5 separate regions of the Homo sapiens genome follow, and all the other regions are linked to region 4. Evidence: promoter capture Hi-C in 16 types of primary human blood cells and fetal thymus (Javierre and others, 2016). All regions are on one chromosome and are shown on one strand. The core of a region is centred on a gene start or on the middle of the fragment in contact, and the rest is flanking DNA. Distances in the headings are between cores, read along the strand shown.

Region 1 (2,700 bases), core at 89-2,588, 520 kb after region 4:
AATGTCTTGTTCTAGCATTGTTTGTGCCATTGTGTCGCCTTGTTCCTTGTCTGTTCCCATTGCAGTCTTCAGCACTCGGAACTCCCGTGCTCCCCCCGCCCCCAACTCCGCCCCCCACCCCCCTCCCTGGTAGGCACCACGTGAGATCTCCCTGCCATCCCAGTGGGACATTGCTCCCATGGTCAGCATCTCCGTTTCATTCTTTGCAGGATTTGGAGGTAATTCTAACTAGATCTCTGTTTTTGAGAATGTTACCACATCCTGTGGCTTTCCTCCTCAATAGGCGTCGGCAGGTACCAGGTGTAGTATACCTGCAGGATTTGTTAGGACTCTGCCCGAGAACATGAACTTGACAAAGAACTCTTGCCCTGAAGAAAAGCTAAATTATGGTTGTACCAATTACATGAAAGAATACAGGAAATGAATATAATGGATATAAAGTGCTCAGGAAAGCAATGCACAAAATAACATTAACATTTTCATCTGGTCCCTGTGGAGTCATTCTTTGTAAGGTCATTCCTTGAAGAGTTTTCTTTTCAAGTTGTAAGCCTGTACGTCTTATTTCACCATGAAGAACTCTGCCTGCTACATTCCTGAGGCAATCCAAGGGGTCAGCTATTAACAGAGCTGGGCTAAATATATCCCTTCCAGGAGCCTCCAGCCTCTGTTCCAGAGTCACATCCTGTGTCAGCTGGAGCAGATTCTCTCCTGCTTCCCTGCCACCAGCAGCCTCATCAGAGGCCTCAAGGTGTCCAAAGAGGTTGGCATGATAAACTGAGGGACTTCCTTGAGGACCTGTCTGTTTACCTGAAACAGCTGGTCTACCTGCTCCCCGCTGCAACTTCACCAGCCTCTATACATTTGTGTATCTACTACACATCATACCTGCCTCCACCTAAAATACAAAGCACAATCTTAACCTCACAGCAAAGACTCACACCGAAGGAGGGTTTTTATACATGAGATTCGAGGGGTTCATCAGATAGGGGAGTATTTGGCTTTTTTCTATTGGGAAGAGATGAAGGTCTTAGAGCAGCAAGTCTGAAATGAAAGCCTATATTTTTCTTTTGGTCTGCTTGGGAGTAGGGGTGCCCCTGGGTGTGGGACTTTCAGTGCTAACACTGGGGCAGTGTTGGGTAAACTGGGACAGTCGGTCTCCCTCCATAGCCTTCACCACCACTATCCTTCCAATTCCCTTCACCGCTATTTCTTATACTGGCTGAGAGAAGGAGAGACTAAGAGGTCAGAGCTTGAAATGGAGCTTTGGAAGTTTTCACCAAACCCATTCCAGATATCTTAGGGGTTTCACACTAAAACAACATTAGGAGGGATCAATAGTCACCTTCTTTGAAGGTGTTTGTGAGAAAAAGAACCTTAAGAGATTGAAGGGAAAGATGTATAACTATAGTTTTAGTTTGTAAAGTCCTTCTAAAGAGCTATTTTAAATGTTTGTATATCGCTAGCTTGAATTTTATTTTCCAGTAAATGTTTCTAATACATAAAAAATGGAAACGTTTGTGATTACAAGTCTGTAGGGTTTGAACCCAGAGCTACAGTCTGTAATTTTAACAAATCCTCCACCTATTGTTTTGGACTTCACAGTCCGTGGCACTCTGCCTCCACCTGGTGGCAGTGTACCTAAATTAAGTCGGGTTCCTCCCTCCCGTCTCCATATTTTTGTGTGTGGTAAGAGCCTCACTTTTGGGAATTGTATCTTACAAGCCAAATTATAAAGATATTAATTTGTCACATACTATCGTCCTTATTTAGAATTCAGCATCAATTTGGAGCAAAAACCATCTCTTTATATTTGCTTTATGCTTTATCTTGTGAAGTATTATGAACCTAATAAAATAATTGAATACTGCAGTCCCTTAGAGAATATGCAACTATTGTAAGCAGATACCATGAAGAACATGACGTGTGAAAATATCATGTGTATAGATTTTTTTAGGTTATAATAAATAAAACTTGTAAGAAATTTATTAATCAGACACAATTCATCATGTCCATTATCATACCGAGTTCCACAATTTTTAGGCCCAAGGATTAGGAGTTCACACTAGGGGATGTAAGTGGGGTTGCTTTTACATAGGTACATCTTTTTTTCTTATATATTCTTTATTTTCTTTTTATTTTGTTAATTCCGCAGCATGAGAATTCTGAAATAATTGCTAAAGTTCATGAGTTATTTTATCATCAACATACTCTGGGATCAGAAGACTCAAAGCCCACTTATTGCTGCTTCTTTGGGGAAAGTCATTTCACTTCCCTAGGGCTAGCTTTCCTGGTCTGTAAAATTGAGATCATAATTATATGTTACCAGGTGGGTATAAGAGTCAAACAAGATGCTGTGTGTACAAGTGCTCTGTTATCCAGATGTTAGTCTCAGGGGCATTGTTATCATGTGCAAATTGAAGGCAAAGATTCCAGTTCATACTTCCCAGCCCCTGGCTGCATTCCATTCTCCATTTAGATCCTAGGCCTGAGTTTCCTTGGAATATATCACGGAATTCTAATTCCCTCTGAGCCCACTGGTCTTCTCACTTGCCAGGACCCCTTGCAAGCCCCCAACCCTCACTCTCCACACGCCCAGCTTTTCCCTTCCCCAACAGTGGCTAAAGCAGCCTGCACCAGAGTAGAACAGGCACCTGGCCTAGACTGGGTGTGGGATTCTCTGGGGTGGGGATGGGATCCAGA
Region 2 (2,700 bases), core at 180-2,679, 540 kb after region 4:
ACAAAAATTAGCCAGGCGTGGTGGCGCACGCCTGTAATCCTAGCTACTCAGGAGACTGAGGCAGCAGAATTGCTTGAACCTGGGAGGCAAATGTTGCAGTGAGCTGAGATCGTGCCATTGCACTCCAGCCTGGGTGACAGAGTAAGACTCTGTCTCAAAAAAAAAAAAAAAAAAAAAAAAAAAAAGAAGTTCAGCTAGCCTGCTGGAGAGATGAGATACCGGGGCATGCGATACCACATGGAGAAGAACGTGGAGAAGCCATGTTGGATGTTCCAGCCCCGTGGGTCTCCAGAGTACTCCAGCACCAGCTGCCAACTGGTGTCAGGGTTCTCTAGAGGGACAGAACTAGTAGAAGACATATATATATATATATGTGTGTGTGTGTATATATAGTCAGGGTTACATATATATATGTCTAATATATATAGACATATATATATTATTCAGGGTTCTCTACAGGGATAGAACTAGTAGGAGACATGTCTCCTACTAGTTCTGTCCCTCTAGAGAACCCTGACTAATACAATATTGCTGTATAACAAATCACCCAAATGCAGTTGCTTAAAAAATAATTTACTGCATTATTATCTCTCATGATAGTGTGTGTTGACTGGATTCGGCTAGGTGATTCTTCCATTTGTCTCCCTTTGAATATCGCTTGCATTTGCAGTCATTTGGCAGCTGGTGTTGGAGTGCTCTGGTGTAAGTTAATACTTAATAAACTCATATATATATATATATATATATATATATATATATATATAGTTCAATTCCTTTATCTTTTCTATACACTTGAAATTTTTCAAAATAAAAAGTTGAGAGGAAATGCCTGGGTATATAACATAAGACATGAAAGAGTCCTTGGAATATATATATATATATGGGTTTATTGTGTGACAGAGTCCCACAACAGGCTATCTGCAAGCTGAGGAGCAAGGAGAGCCTGTCCAAGTCCCAAAACTGAAGAACCTGGAATCTGATGTTTGAGGGCAGGAAGCATCCAGCACGGGAGAAAGATGTAGCCTGGGAGGCTAGACCAGCCTCTCTTTTCACATTTTTCTGCCTGCTTATACTCTAGCTGTGCTGGCAGCTGATTAGATTATGCCCACCCACATTAAGGGTCATCTGCCTTCCCCAACCCACTGACTCAAATGTTAATCTCCTTTGGCAACACCCTCACAGACACACCCAGTATCAAGACTTTACATCCTTCAGTCCAATCAAGTTGACACTCAGTATTAACCATCGCAAGTCCACCTCTTGTCAACTTGAACCCACACACATCTCCTGAGGTCATACATAATCTTCAAATAAAGACAATAATAAGGTCATAATTATGCCTAACATAATGCAACTATTCTTCATACAACCGGAAACACACCAATCCCCAACCCAAATACTATTACTTAAAGTTAACAATGCTTAAATGCGGATGGGAAATCAATAAAATCTTATGTCACGTGATAAAGGAGAAGGGAAATAAAATGAAGATATTTTCTTAGTACAAGTATATACATGCACAAACATGTTTTTAACAAAAGGAGGAAATACTCATGACAGTTAAACAGTCCTTGTTTCTGCAGCTGGTCATGTGGTCGTAGTTGGTATTGATGACTACCTTCTTCTACTACCCATTCTGTATTCCCTTAGCCTTCAGCAAGCACCTCAGCAGGTCGTGGTTTTTTCCTGGTGGAATGACCCAAACCTTCATTCCTGAAGGGTCTGAGTCATTTGTAGTCCTGCCTGAATTGGGCTGTTGTAGTTTCCCATTGACCTTAATCACAGGGCATGGTAATACTAAGAGACACCCTAATGAATCTCCTGTATTCCATGCATACTTTTCCTTACCTCTGTTGTGTAGTAGTAGACTGATTTCATCTTGATAGTCCGGGTCAACCACCCCAGCCAATACTGTAACTCCATTCTTAGCCTGTTGCCTTAAAGCTAGGAGGAGCCCAAAGAGTCCAGGTGGCAATCTTAACTTCCAGTTTAATGGAATCATTGTTGTGTTTCCTCGTGGCAGGGTTCCTCCCTCTGGAACAAAGACCTCTAGGCCAGTAGAGAGTAATGTCCTGGGAACAGGAAGCAAAAATTTTGCTAGTGGATCACTAGGGGTGATGGTGAATGGTGCCACTTCCACTTCCACCCCTTAATTCCTGGACCCATGAATCCTAGCTATGGGAGAAACAGTGCCATATACTGGATGCTGATTCAGAGCATACACAGCCTTCTGGAGAACTTTACCCCAGCCCCTCAAAGTATTGTCACCTAGTTGGCATTGTAATTGTTACTTCAAAAGGCCATTCCACTGTCTTCTCTTCCTCTGTCAGGTGATCATAGGGAACTCCCCATGAGGCCGTCGGTGCAGGCTACGAGAGAGAAGGCAGGGTGGCAGGAGTGGAGACCATGGGCATTTGAGTTACTTCCTCAAGTAACTTGTTTGTGCCTTCAGGACCTGCTTGAGCCTGATCACATATGTACCACTTCCTTTGATGACGGAATGCTGCTGTGCATGACCCACTTTATGGCTAGATGGGTCAGAAAGTACTCTGTTCTTAATAGGCAGTTTAGGTCACATGGTGACTTGATGATTCATAGTCAAATGTTCAGTTTATGCCAAAGCCCAATAACAGGCCAAGAGCTGTCTCTCCCAAGGAGAGTAGTTATCTGCAGAAGATGGCAGGGCCTTGCTCCAAAATC
Region 3 (2,700 bases), core at 14-2,513, 940 kb before region 4:
TGTAGAGGGTGAAGCCTCAGAATCTGTATTTTTATTTATTTATTTATTTTTGAGACACAGTCTCACTCTGTTGCCCAAGCTAGAGTGCATGGTGTGATTTTGGCTCACTGCAACCTCCACCTCCTGAGTTCACGTGATTCTCCTACCTCAGCACCCCCAAGCAGCTGGGATTACAGGTGCCCACCACCATACCCAGCTGATATTTGTAATTTTAGTAGAGACGTGGTTTCTCCACGTTGGCCAGGCTGGTCTCGAACTCCTGACCTCGGGTGATCCACCCACCTCAGCCTCCCAAAGTGCTGGGATTACAGGTGTGAGCCACTGCACCCAGCTCATATTTTAAATGAAAAGAAGAAAATGGAGATTATAAACCACTAAGTACATTATCTGATTTTTATAAAGACTTATATGTGCAATTTATACATAAAATATATATGTGTGTGAATATATATATATATATAATCTGAAAGGCTATACATAAATATGTTAATAATAATTATCTTTTTGGCTTACTTGTAGTTTGTAATGTTTCAACAATAAGTATGGATAATTAACAAGATAGGGATAAAAAGATAAGTAATAGGATGGCTTACTCGAAACCAAAGCAAACACTGATCAAGCTTATTAAATAATAAAGTTACTAAAATGAAGAAGGAACTGAAGATCTTAAAAAAAAGAAATCACATAACTATATATGATTTCCAGTGATTTTCTGCCACCCTGTGGGGAATTCTGCACATTGCAGAACTGAAGAAGCAAAGTATGAAACTACAAAAACTTCTGTAAATCAAGATGAAATTTCTTGGCCCAAGTAGTTGTTTAGCTAAAGCTCTGTTGATCAGTTTTGTTTTCTCTACTAGCTATTTAGTGAAATTGCTAGACTAGGATAAAAAGAATACCTAATACTTAAATGTGATTACAATATGACAACCAAGGTCCTAATACATATATATGAATTCATCTCACAAAAACCCTATAAGGTAGGTACTATTTTCTTCCCATTTTATCAAAGAGACGGACTTTAATCTACCAATGGTGGGTAAATGTTGCCAAAGCAATGTGAAATCCAGGCAGAATGCTGCATTTTTAGTCAATGATTTAAAATTTTGAGCTTTTCTGTTCCCCTCAGGCCTGATCGTACCCCAATGGAATCACCCAAATACTTGATGCTGAGCCTTTCTATGGATTTATCAGATGAAACTTTGGAAAGGGACTTTTTTTTTTTTTTAAGACAGGGTTTCGCTGTCACCCAGGCTGGAGTGGAGTGGCGCGATCTTGGCTCACTACAACCGCCGCCTGCCAGGCTCCAGAGAGTCTCCCACCTCAGCCTCCCAAGTGGCTGGGACCACAGGTGCATGCCACCAAGCCCACCTAATTTTCTTCTTTTCTTTCTTTCTTCCTTTCTTTCTCTTTGCTTCTTTTTCTTTCTTTCTTTCTCTGTCTCTTTTTTTTTTTTTTTTTTTAAGAGATGGGGTCTCGCCATGTTGCCCTGAGGTCTGGCGATCTACCGACTCGGCCTCTCAAAGTGCTGGGATTACAGTCATGAGCCAGCACGCCCAACTGAGAGAGACTATGATGTTCTCCAAACAAATCTCATTTGGTTGAAACTCTACAGCTGAGTATGGTCTAATTTGAGTAGTTTACCTTGAGTACTCTAACCATGGTCTATAGACCTGGGCTCTTCTGAGAACTGTTTGCAAATGGTTCACAGAGAGAGAGTAGAAAACTCTATGTCAATTTTGCAGGTAATTTTATGGCTGTTAACTCTAACGATAAAAAGTTTTGACTTGGACTTTGTATGTCTTTTCATTTTTCTGTTTTATTAACTTGTCAAAAACTAATTGAAAATTGAAAAAAATAAACCGACCGTTCCCCCAGTGAAGAGAAGCACTGCTGTAAAGCTTTTCACACTCAAATATTACCAAACTCTAAGGTCGCTTCTGAGGCCTAACTCCCCAAAATGATGCCTCGGATATTTTTCCTCGCCTTATTTCTTTTTTTTCTTTTTCTTTTTTTTTTTTTTTCCTTTTTCCTTTTATTTGAGACGGAGTTTTTGCTCTGTTGCCCAAGCTGGAGTGCAATGGCACGATCTCGGCTCACTGCAAACTCCAACTCCGCCTCCGCCTCCGCCCTCGCCTCCTGAGTAGTTGGGATTACAGACGCGCGCCACCACGCCCAGCTAATTTTTGTTTGTTTAGTAGAGACGAGGTGTCACCATGTTGGCCAGGCTGGTCTCGAGCTCTTGACCTCCGGTAATCCACCCGCCTCGCCCTCCCAAAGTGCTGGGATTACAAGCGTAAACCACCGCGCCCGACCTCCTCCCCTTATTTCATCCATTTTATAATTCACATTATTGATCGCTGATAATTGCACCTATTGTAATGATACTGATAATTGCACCTGTTGTAATAATATTGATATTGATAATTGCACCTATTGTATTACAATATTATTATTGATATCGATAATTTCACCTACTGTAATGATCAATAAAGGCAGGCAGAAAGAAAACAAAAGTAACTGAAACTACCAGGCAGCGTCCCTGCGAACAGCAAAGAGGGAAGAAACGCCTTGAGGCGTAGTAACGCCACCAATAAGGAGTCGACGCGACGGGTCCGCCCACAGGCAAGGAAGGCCGACCCCGCGAGTGCAGGCGCGAGCGCTAGCCCGTGACGTCTGAGGGGGTTGGGGGGATGCTGT
Region 4 (2,700 bases), core at 155-2,654:
GGGCAACGAGAGCGAAACTCCGTCTCAAAAAAAAAAAAATTCTCTTCACTTATGTTAATGGTAATAAATGGTATAAAATATACAGGTAACAGTATAGGAATTCCAGTTTATTACAGTATCAATAACATTAAGGCCGAGCGCAGTGGCTCACGCCTGTAATCCCAGCACTTGTGGGAGGCCGAGGCGGGAGGATCGCTTGAGTTGGAGGTTACAGTGAGCTATGATCACACCACTGCACTTCAGCCTGGCGAGACAGCGGATACCTTGTCTTTAGAAAGCAAAACAAAACAATTTACACACACACACACACACACACACTCTCCCTAATTCGGCTTGAGTTGGAGGTTACAGTGAGCTATGATCACACCACTGCACTTCAGCCTGGCGAGACAGCGGAGACCTTGTCTTTAGAAAGCAAAACAAAACAATTTACACATACACACACACACACACGCACACACACACTCTCCCTAATTCGGCCTACTCAAGCACGATACCAAATAGATGAAGAATATCTAATTAAATGGCCATAAAAAGTTCTAGTTCATGACATCCAAGTTTAAAGAATCAAAATGAGTTACGAGAAAACAAACACAAGCTTTAAGAAGTTGGGGAGAAGATGTGCGTGGATTCGCTTCAAAGATGTGACAGAGAGAAAAGAGGACATTTTCTGGACTGGAGATTCAAGACAGTCTGGTTCAGGTTGCATGCTTTTGCAAAGGCTAAAGCCTTAGTCTGTGACATAAATTTGTAAAGAGCTCGGAAAATTACATCTCGGACATGGTGTCTTTTTTTCCTGCTGCTTGAAGGTCTTTGCATTTATGTTCGCATCACTGGGGCAGCTGCCGCTATAATTACTGCTTGTTGGGACTTTTTGTTTACTTGGTAGCTGTGGTGCACCAAGAGAGGCAGAAAAAGAAGAAAAAAAACCTCTGTTACTTGTGACGTTAAGAAGTCGAAAGCAGCCCTGCTTACATCTTCCACGGACCATTTTAGCCCAAGGGAAGGTCCTCAGCAGCTCTAACACGTAGCGGAGCACTATCTCCGCGTAGGAGCGCTCCCGCCCCGGGGCGGGACCAGGACAAACCCCGCCTCCCAAGCCCAATCCCAGCTCTCCGCCGGCGGACAGGAAGCGGCGGCAGGCCTAGCAGCACGGGAACCGTCCCCCGCGCGCATGCGCGCGCCCCTGAAGCGCCTGGGGGACGGGTAGGGGCGGGAGGTAGGGGCGCGGCTCCGCGTGCCAGTTGGGTGCCCGCGCGTCACGTGGTGAGGAAGGAGGCGGAGGTCTGAGTTTCGAAGGAGGGGGGGAGAGAAGAGGGAACGAGCAAGGGAAGGAAAGCGGGGAAAGGAGGAAGGAAACGAACGAGGGGGAGGGAGGTCCCTGTTTTGGAGGAGCTAGGAGCGTTGCCGGCCCCTGAAGTGGAGCGAGAGGGAGGTGCTTCGCCGTTTCTCCTGCCAGGGGAGGTCCCGGCTTCCCGTGGAGGCTCCGGACCAAGCCCCTTCAGCTTCTCCCTCCGGATCGATGTGCTGCTGTTAACCCGTGAGGAGGCGGCGGCGGCGGCAGCGGCAGCGGAAGATGGTGTTGCTGAGAGTGTTAATTCTGCTCCTCTCCTGGGCGGCGGGGATGGGAGGTGAGGCACGACTGCGAGCGCCGGGGGCGCCGCGACCACGGCGGAGCGGCGGCCGGGCCGAGCGGAGCCCAGTCGCGCCTCGCGGCGTGCGCGTCAGTCAGCCCAGCCGGCCAGCGGCGCCACTCTGGCGGGCCGCGCTCCCCGCTCCCTATTGTCCCCCGCGCCCCGACCGCTTTCCCTTCGGTGGCGGGCCGAGGAGGCTCCCAAGCCTCCGGCGAGGCCTTCCCCGCCCCCCACCGCCCTGGCGGCCCCGGGAGGCGGGGGTCGCCTCCCAGAGAAGCGAAGTCGGGGCATCCGCGTCGCCTGGTGAGAGCGGTGGAACCCAGGCTGGTGGCTGCATCCCTCCAGTCTGCTCGGCGGGCGCCGGTGCAGGCAGCCGCAGCGAGGCTGGCGGTCTCGCCGTCCTCGTTCAGCGCTCATCCTGCTCACCATTCCTCCCCCAGCCCCTGCCCGGTGGCGGATTCCGAAGTCCTCTCCGCCGCCGAGACCCGCCGCGCAGACTCGTGGGAAGTTGTGTTGTTTGCAGCTGGGCTCGTGTATTGTTCTTTACCCGGCGCGCCGGTCCTGACCGACCCCATTCTGCAGAGGGGCCGCCCGTGGAGTGGCAGCAGTCATCACCCGCTTATCTGAGACTAGTGGCCTCGGTTCTTCCTGTGTCCTGTGTTTGGAGAGAGATCACAGGAGGGTGTGTTGGTGTTCTTGAAAACATTCTGTCGCCCAGGGGAAAGGGTTTGGTCGGGAGAAGGGTAAACCATTTGGGGATGTTCTTTGATTTGTAGGCTGGATTGGGTCTCTTAGAGTAGAAGTTCGGTCCCTGGGTGACCCAACTTGAAGAGTTTCGTTAAACTTTCAGGTGGAGTAGATGTACAGTGTAGTTAGTGGATTGTCAAAACAGTGCCCCCTCCCCCCTGCACATGAAAGTCAAATTTGCTAAAAGCATGTCATTTCTTGTTTCGGGTTTTGAAGACAACGATTTTTATTTCCGGTGTGTTCTAGGACCAGCTGCATCATTTTATTCTTGCTTAAAGTGCTTTATTTTAGGTAAGCTTTTTGACTTGCCCCAGAGTAA
Region 5 (2,700 bases), core at 28-2,527, 910 kb before region 4:
ATTTTATATATTCTTCATTAAACAGAGTTGATCAAGAACTTAATGGAAAACAAGATGAACCGAAAAATGAACAGTAAGTTTGGCATCTAGTCCAAACAAGACTGAAGAATGTGCTGATGGAGCAGTGCTGTTTCTGCATTCATAATGCATTTATTGGCCCATATTTTTATGTAACCTGTTACAAAATAGACTTGACTTTTTCATAATGGACTTTTGTATTATACAAGGGACTGTTCACTGCTGTACTGGTTTGCAAATTTCTTGAATTTAGCTCTTTAATAGCTAACTGTATTATTATCGTTTTATATTTTATATTGCTAAATAGAGAACCACACTTTATATAAAGTAGTTTTTGCATTTGTTTATTGAATGATGCATCTTCTTCGGTGAAATATTTATATGCATAAATGGCAAAGGAAAGAAATAATATATATTTTTATGTCATTGAGCAATATTTTTTAATGTGTACCTGTCTTATGGAAGAAATATGCAGGTATATAAGACCACGATTTTCTAAAGTGCATATTAGAATTTTTGTTTTTGTAAATGGTTAAATACATTTCCTGGGTAACTTAGGAAATTAAGTTTTTCATAAGGCAACAGATGGTTAAACTGATTGTCATGAATACCCAAAGATCATGTATATAATCGAAGTGTATTAGTACCATCCCAAGGTTTTTTTCTCATTTAACATATTTGTTTCATAATTCAGCAAGTACAGATGCAAGCGCATTGCACACTTTTTCCTTTCTAAACTTAAAGACAAGTCAAAAAGCCATTCTTAGAACTAGAGGATTTAAGAGGGTAGGAATTAGGGTTTGTATATATGTATATATGGGACATTTTATCTTCTGGCCCAAAGTCAGAACTTTATAAAAATCTTGAGTTTGTTCACTAATGTGAAATAAGCTATGTGTCCAGGGTATTGCTCCCCTGAGTGTATATGAGTGCTGAGTAGTATTGCAGAGAATGTGATGAGTTATTCACTGTCACAACTTTTTCTATAGAAAACAGGGGCTGCTTTTTAAACTCTCACTATGGGCACTTTACCAAAATACTTCCATATCAATTATTTGAACTCGGTAGTTGTTTGACCTAGTTAGATGTGGTGTTTATTCAAGTTTGTATGAAATCATGTTTGACAATACTGTAAATTAGGTTAATTTTGTAAGTCTTAGCATCATCATATTGTGCTGTTTTGGATAACACGTTTGTTACAAGCATTTAAACTGTTTCATTTGGTAGTACCTTTACATTGAAATAAATTGTGTTTGTGCCTCCAAACAAAAAGTTTAATTACCGACAAAATTATTTCTAAAACAACAGATTGATCTGATATTGTGTCATATACTTGAAAGGCTCATACACAGCTGGTAAGCATAATACCTTCCAAATTTGAAGGTCATGGCTACTCTTCAACCCTTCCTGTAAGGTATTTTACAAAACAGTGGCCTAGAGTAGCAAAATTGAAGTGGATGTGAGCTAACCTTTCAAGATTTAGTCTATCCTAGATTGAACACACATGTGGCTGTGACCATTCTCATGTACTTACAAACCTTCTGTTACAAAAGGGAACTTTCCTATATTTTTTGTCCTCCTCAGTCCTAAACTTGGCATGCTAACTTAAAACCAGTTATAGGAGAGAGATGCTGGAGGATTCCCAGGATGAAACATTCCTCAGCAGCCTCCTGACTTAACTCAGATCCAGCAGCTCTTGGCAGATCCTGAACTAATGTCATTACAGTGAATTGAGCCAAAACGATTATTGCTTGCTCACATTTTAGGAACACTTGTTGTTGAAGAAGCAAACTAACAATAACAAGTTAGGCATTCCTTCTGAATTTACCATATAAGGATTATGTATAAACAATTATATTGAATTTGTCATTAGATTCTATATTTGTAGACGATTTAACGTAGTCTTTCATCTGTACATCTTTATCTTGCTCAAAATGGGCTGAGGTTTTTAATAGGTGGTTTTCTACCACATTAAGTACTTGGTTCTTCAGTTTAAAAAATATGAAGAATAACTTCAACTCTTTTTTGCATTATTTTGATTTTTGATTTTGCAGTCATTGCTCCTAACTGTAGATACATGTTGCAAAAGTGATGTTTTTCTGAATTTTTTTTAAAAGTAGAAGACTATTCTGTTAAACATTAAAATTCAGAGACAACAGTGATAACACCTGGGATATAATGAAAATGAGGTGCTGTGAATCAGTAAACTAAAGGGATACCTGCTTTAACCTGCACCTTAATGGAATCTGGTATAGAGATGTACCCACAATAAATGTTTTATAAGATTTAAGATCATAATAGTAGGTTAGAGGAAGAGCATTTATTAAGTCTGTTGTTTCTAATCTATAGCTAAGTTAACATTTCCCATATTATTCCATTTTAATTTCCCATTACTGACCAAGGTGAAAGTATATGTGATTGTACTTTTATCTTTCTGTTGGGATCATGGATCTAATTTAACTGGCTTAATTTGATGCTTCTGTCACTAGGCTCTAAGTGCCCCTTTTTTAGTCAGAAGTTTTTCATGTGAAATAATTTGATTCTGTGTTCTGCTTGATCATACTCCTAAGCAAGCACCAAGGGAAGACGTTCTATTCACCCCACAATTTAAGCTTAACAATCTTTAACTCAGAGGGAGATATGAAGAAATATGATTCTAAGTAGGGTCTAGCAGAGGCATTG

The links. The method cuts DNA at HindIII sites, captures the fragments that hold promoters and counts their contacts. A CHiCAGO score of 5 or more calls a contact.
Region 1: a fragment that was not itself captured here is called in contact with the fragment with the promoter of ADAM10 in region 4 in 13 of 17 cell types (M2 macrophages, megakaryocytes, M0 macrophages and 10 more); the score reaches 17.8 in M2 macrophages.
Region 2: a contact is called between a fragment that was not itself captured here and the fragment with the promoter of ADAM10 in region 4, in 3 of 17 cell types (megakaryocytes, erythroblasts and M1 macrophages). The highest score is 8.4, in megakaryocytes.
Region 3: a fragment that was not itself captured here is called in contact with the fragment with the promoter of ADAM10 in region 4 in 4 of 17 cell types (total B cells, naive B cells, neutrophils and 1 more); the score reaches 8.2 in total B cells.
Region 5: a contact is called between a fragment that was not itself captured here and the fragment with the promoter of ADAM10 in region 4, in 1 of 17 cell types (non-activated CD4 T cells). The highest score is 5.2, in non-activated CD4 T cells.

The regions. Positions count from the first base shown.
Region 1 is chr15:58,226,828-58,229,527 of GRCh38, reverse strand. The region is part of intron 1 of LOC124903499 (a long non-coding RNA gene); the gene reads right to left. Among named protein-coding and RNA genes, the nearest start is that of AQP9, 90 kb to the right of the region's middle. The HindIII fragment of the contact is 8,324 bases long and covers 1-2,700 here.
Region 2 is chr15:58,209,146-58,211,845 of GRCh38, reverse strand. No RefSeq gene overlaps it. Among named protein-coding and RNA genes, the nearest start is that of AQP9, 72 kb to the right of the region's middle. The HindIII fragment of the contact is 4,167 bases long and covers 1-2,700 here.
Region 3 is chr15:59,689,434-59,692,133 of GRCh38, reverse strand. No RefSeq gene overlaps it. Among named protein-coding and RNA genes, the nearest start is that of BNIP2, 1.5 kb to the right of the region's middle. RefSeq lists a silencer at 2,537-2,700 and an enhancer at 2,460-2,700. The HindIII fragment of the contact is 1,281 bases long and covers 623-1,903 here.
Region 4 is chr15:58,748,411-58,751,110 of GRCh38, reverse strand. ADAM10 (ADAM metallopeptidase domain 10) reads left to right here and starts at 1,404. Exons shown (of 16, transcript NM_001110.4): 1 at 1,404-1,631. The coding sequence starts at 1,577. RefSeq lists enhancers at 785-964, 2,055-2,184, 1,636-2,271 and silencers at 1,035-1,324, 1,655-1,944. The HindIII fragment of the contact is 2,079 bases long and covers 601-2,679 here.
Region 5 is chr15:59,661,446-59,664,145 of GRCh38, reverse strand. BNIP2 (BCL2 interacting protein 2) reads left to right here. Exons shown (of 10, transcript NM_004330.4): 10 at 26-2,700. The coding sequence ends at 77. Among named protein-coding and RNA genes, the nearest start is that of GTF2A2, 5.3 kb to the right of the region's middle. The HindIII fragment of the contact is 2,710 bases long and covers 1-2,632 here.